Regions from separate parts of the Homo sapiens genome. Here region 2 is linked to region 1. Evidence: promoter capture Hi-C in 16 types of primary human blood cells and fetal thymus (Javierre and others, 2016). All regions are on one chromosome and are shown on one strand. Each heading gives the region's core, a stretch centred on a gene start or on the middle of the fragment in contact. The rest is flanking DNA. Distances are from core to core; before and after follow the strand shown.

Evidence for each region. Contacts are between HindIII fragments. The CHiCAGO score rates a contact against its expected background, and 5 or more counts as called.
Region 2: a contact is called between the fragment with the promoter of PPP1R14D here and the fragment with the promoter of RPUSD2 in region 1, in 4 of 17 cell types (M2 macrophages, endothelial precursors, M1 macrophages and 1 more). The highest score is 5.8, in M2 macrophages.

What each region holds. Positions count from the first base shown.
Region 1 is chr15:40,568,008-40,570,647 of GRCh38, forward strand. RPUSD2 (RNA pseudouridine synthase domain containing 2) reads left to right here and starts at 1,292. Exons shown (of 3, transcript NM_152260.3): 1 at 1,292-1,936. The coding sequence starts at 1,331. RefSeq lists enhancers at 1,234-1,563, 1,625-2,124, 1,874-1,923. The HindIII fragment of the contact is 4,663 bases long and covers 1-2,640 here.
Region 2 is chr15:40,827,404-40,830,043 of GRCh38, forward strand. PPP1R14D (protein phosphatase 1 regulatory inhibitor subunit 14D) reads right to left here and starts at 1,305. Exons shown (of 4, transcript NM_017726.8): 1 at 984-1,305. The coding sequence starts at 1,238. The HindIII fragment of the contact is 4,675 bases long and covers 870-2,640 here.

The DNA.
Region 1 (2,640 bases), core at 42-2,541:
TTTTTTTGGCAAACTAACATTGAAATGCCTCCTTATTTGGAAGAATCCCACTCTGGATACCAAAGAGGGTTAGATTCTTGGCCGGGCGCGGTGGCTTACGCCTGTAATCCCAGCACTCATAATATAAAAATTAGCCAGGCGTGGTGGTGCGTGCCTGTAGTCCCAGCCACTCAGGAGGCTGAGGCAGAAGAATGGCTTGAACTCAGGAGGCGGAGGTTGCAGTGAGGTGAAATCGCTCCACTGCACTCCAGCCTGGGCGACAGAGCAAGACTCCGTCTCAAAAAAAAAAAAAAAAAAAAAAAAAAAGAGGGTTAAATTCTTCCATCTCCAGGCACCCTGGAAGTGAGGGCTCAGAGCAATGAGGTTTGGCTGATGGAAGTCCTCCCCTGCAGGACTCTTAACCTTGGAAGAGGGACACAGAGACACAGGGAGATTTAGGGGTCTCCAAGGGGTGGCAGGGCTGCAGGAAAAAGAGTCCTTTGGCACAACATAGTTTCTTGTGTCTACTGCATCCCAACTGGGTTTCTTCCCTGACATGTCTGAAGCCAGGCTCTCAAAAGGCTTGGTTTCCCTTGATTTGGCCCTTTTTCTGAGCCTAGTCTCCAGTTGTCTTGTGAATTCTATGAGGCACTAATATACTTTCCATAATTCTATCTCTGATGAAATTAGCCAGAGTTGGTTTATTTTGCACTTAAGAACCCTCGCCATATATCCTCTGATCTATTTGCAGTTTTAATCTCAGGATGGAAGCATGTGGGAGGCGAATGGGGATCACTAATCCTTCTCATGCTGTTAGGGGGAAACACAGGTGTGAACACATTGCTTCTGGGGTGCTTGTGTGTGTTTTAAATACATATATAACAATCTTACTGAGATACAAGTCACATACTATAATATTGACCCTTTTAAAATATAGAATACAGTGGGTTTTAGTATATTCGCAGAGTTTAGCAATCTTTATTCTGGTTGTTAGTTTTTGTTTTGTCTTAAATAAAGCTCCTTTCAAGCGTTTCTTCAGACCCAAGGGACTACTCGGAATTTACACGACCTACTCCTGTCATGGCCTTTACACGGAGCAATTCCAAGGGTTTCCTTTATAAATAACGTCGTATCTCCCTAATAGGAAGACGTCTGAGTAAGGTCACTTTTGGTGAGACATTTACAGTCTCTCATCTCTAAGCTCACTCAATTCACCTAATTTAATTCGAGCAGCTCACTCATTCGCTCACTTATCGCAGACCCCGCCTCGGGACTGGGCCTCCCTGATTCGCTGGGGCCGAGTGACGTCCTCAGATCGCGACCCTGGGAGTGGAGTGGGGGCAGCGTGGTTATGTGGCTGGACCGCCGCGGATGGCTCAGGGTTCTTGGACATTGGCGCTACGACCTTAGGCGCCCTAGCTTTACCAGGACTTGGAGTGGCGATAAGGGCCCAATGGCAGAAACAGTGTCTACCCAGGTTGGGACAGAGGGCGGGCTGAGGGCTTCGCATCAGCAAAACGGTGACGCTGGTGGCGACGCGAAGGTTGAGCTGTCCCCCGGGCCCCCGAAGCCGGCTGGCCGGGAAGTGGAGCCGGCCCCAGTAGGCGGGGAGCATCCCTCGGCTGCAGCCCCAGGCCCGGGCAAGCATAAGAAGCGGCGGGGCGCAACCAGGGAGCGTGTCGTGCCGCCCCCGAAGAAGCGGCGGACCGGGGTGAGCTTCGGAGATGAGCACTTTGCAGAAACCAGTTATTACTTCGAGGGCGGCCTGCGTAAGGTGCGGCCCTATTACTTTGACTTCCGGACCTACTGCAAAGGTCGCTGGGTGGGCCACAGCTTGCTGCACGTCTTCAGTACCGAGTTCCGAGCTCAGCCCCTGGCCTACTATGAGGCCGCGGTCCGGGCGGGCCGCCTGCAACTCAACGAGAAGCCGGTGCAGGACCTCAACATCGTGCTCAAGGTGGAGTCCTGATGGGGCTGGCCAGAAGCGGGCGAGGAAAAGGGGCCGGGTTTTGTTTTGTTTTGTTTTGTTTTTTAGTCTTAGTAAAGCATAGGTACTGGATTAAAATCATGGCAATTCTAAAGCGTTCTCGCTTTCATTTGGAACACTATTTTAGCCCGTTTCCCACCTCCGCAAGTGGCCAGGGTGTCTGTGCTTCAGGACTCAGCCTGTTTATCCTCTTCCTCAAGGCAGCTTCCTTGTTTCCAAGGGACAGAAGTTGGAATTTTCATAATTCCTTTAAACACCGTCTTGTGGCAAGGGCACTGATCACTTTACCCTGCGTTGTAGATCTCTGTGCAAATAGTAATAATAGGGGCTATCATTTATGTCTCTTTACTGTGTGCTGGGCACAAAGTTAAACATTGTATGTCCACTAATTCTAATGACAGCCTTGTGAAGTAGGTATTGCCACTCCATTTTACCTCTGAGGAAACTAAGGAAACTCACAGGGGTAAGGCTATCAACAGTGCCACTACCAAAGCCTATGTTCCTATAACTACTACTTAAACTATTTAACATAGAGTTATGAGATGTCAGGGATAGAGACTAGAATTGTTTAGCCCAGTGCTTTGACTCCTTTAAAATTCCATCACATCTATGAGGTACCAGACACCCCTGTCAGAAGTAACACTGTTTACCTCTCAGTAACACTAGTTTACCAT
Region 2 (2,640 bases), core at 55-2,554, 260 kb after region 1:
AGGCTGAGGCAGGAGAATCGCTTGAACTTGGGAGGCGGAGGTTGCAGTGAGCCAAAATCACGGCATTGCACTCCAGGCTGGTTTACAGAGTAAGACTGTCTCAAAAAAAGGCAAAAGAAAAAAGAAATGTGGCCCATGTGACTGGGGAACTGAATAATTTTATTTAATTATAACTCATTTAAAGTCAAACAGCTACACATGGCTGATGGCTACAGAATTGGAAAATGTAGCTCTAGGCTGGGCATGGTGGTGCACACCTGTAATCCCAGCACTTTGAGAGGCCGAGGCAGGCAGACTGTTTGAGCCAAGGAGTTCAAGACCAGCCTGGGCAACATGGTGAAAAGCCGTCTCTACAAAAAAAAATACAAAAAAATTTGCCAGGCGTGGTGGTGCGCACCTGTAGTCCCAGCTACTCAGGAGGCTGAAGTGGGAGGATGGCTTGAACCCAGCAGGCAGAGCAGTGAGCTGAGATTGCACTACTGCATTCCAGCCTGTGCAACAGGGCAAGACTTTGTCTCAAAAACAAACAAACAAACAAAAAACAAAAGAAAGAAAGAAAGAAAGAAACAAAGAAAAAGAAAAGAAACGAAAATGTAGCTCCGGACATGTATGTGCATTGAACATGGGAGTAAATAAAGATATAAAATTTTGAAACATAGTGTGACCAAGCATTTTCCCTTCTATTGTCTCATTTGAGCCTCAGAAAGTCCTATAAAGGAGATATGACAGGCACTAACAGCCCTATTATAGATTAGGGATGTTAAAAGACCTTCCCCAGATCACAAAGAGCATTAGAGGCACAGACAAGCCTAGAGGGAGGCAGACTTCTGGACTTCAAACCGATGCTTCTTTCTTTCATCAGTTACAAAAGCTTTCTCTTCACGGAAGCACCTCACATCAGCCCTCCAGCTCCTGTGAAGGTCTCAGTGCCCTGGGTGGACCCCAGGCCCCCATCTCCTCCCACTATCCGCTGTGCTACCTACCTGGAAGAGCTCCTGAACTTGAGCATCCACCCATTGCTCCATCTCCAGCCAGCGCTGGAGCTGGCCCCGGTCATACTTCACTGTCAGGCGGCTGGGTCTCCGGGACCTGGGTATCTTGGAGGAGTCCGGGTGGGACTTGGACTCTGAGTCTGTGGATGATGTCCTTCTCCTCCCAGAAGCCCAGTGGACCTTCTTACATGGGTTCTCCCCATCTGGGCTGGGAGATGTGCAGGAAGCAGGGCTTGAAGACAGCATGGAAGTATTGGTCTGGGCAAGGAGCTGGGAAAAACCGCCAGTTCTGAGCAGAGCCACAGAGGGAAGTGAGGAGACAGAGAACAGGAGAGGCCAGCAGAGAAGAAATGAAGGCAGGAGGAGGGCCAAGGCTCCCAGGGAGGGGCAAGGGCAAAGATCAATAGGACTTTGGTGCTGGGAATGCCAGTCTCCTGGCTCCTCACTGCCAGCCAGTGAGTGGCACTCCAGAGCCATGCCCCAGCCTCCCTTTCTGCAGCTTCTAGGGCCCAAAGTGGCATAAACTGCAGATGAGCAAAGGTCAAGAGGCTGCCATGCCCAGGGAGGAGGAAGGGGCCCTGGGGTCCTGAAGGGTACAGGGCTCCAATCGCTGCTCTATGGCCAGCTCTGGAATGGGACCTGAGTCGTTCTCACCTGAGATCCCTCTGTATCCCACCTTCCTGGGGCTGGATCCACTCTGGGCTCTGAGAAGCTGTGGTCAGATTCCGCAGAAGCAGGGTCCCTGGCTGGCAGGGATTCTTACTCAGAGCGTAGCACTACTGGGGGCAGAGCCCCAGCTGGTAGATAGAGTTGGAGGTCAGTTATTGATGGCTCCCGTAGGACCAGTGCCCCCAGTGTCTGGGTGTGTCCGAATGTAAACTGCTATCAGCCTGGCCTATAAAGGCAGTTTACCTGCTTGTAAAGGCAAATTTATCAAGACTTGTCTACTATGCCCGCTCCCCTGAGGCAACTGCTTAGGAAGCCATGTTTATTACCACGTGACCCTCCCCCGATTCATGTATTTGCTGACACAGAGGAAACCTGCAAACCTAACTTATACACAGGTGTCAGGGACTAATACTTCCAGGCATACATACTTGCATTCTAAGGCAGGGTATTTTTGTTTAGTCTTTTATAATGAAAATTTCTAAACTTTAAAAAAAAAAAGTGACAGAAGAACACTGTAATTTTTTTTTTTTTTTTTTTGAGATGGAGTCTCGCACTGTCACCCAGGCTGGGGGGCAATGCTGCGATCTTGGCTCACTGCAACATCCGCCTCCCAAGTTCAAGCAATTCTCCTGCCTCAGCCTCCCAAGAAGCTGGGATTACAGGCGCCCACCACCATGCCCGGATAATTTTTTGTATTTTTAGTAGAGACGAGGTTTCACTATGTTGCCCAGGCTGGTCTCAAATGCCTGACCTCATGATCCACCCGCCTCGGCCTCCCAAAGTGGTGGGATTACTGGAGTGAGCCACCGTGCCCAGCCTGTAATTTTTTTAAAATGGGGCCAGGCATGGTGGCTCACGCCTGTAATCCCAGCACTCTGGGAGGCCGAGGCGCGTGGATTGCTTGAGCTCAGGAGTTCAAGACCAGCCTGGGCAAAATGGTGAAATTCTCTCTCTACCAAAAAAAAAAATAATAATAATA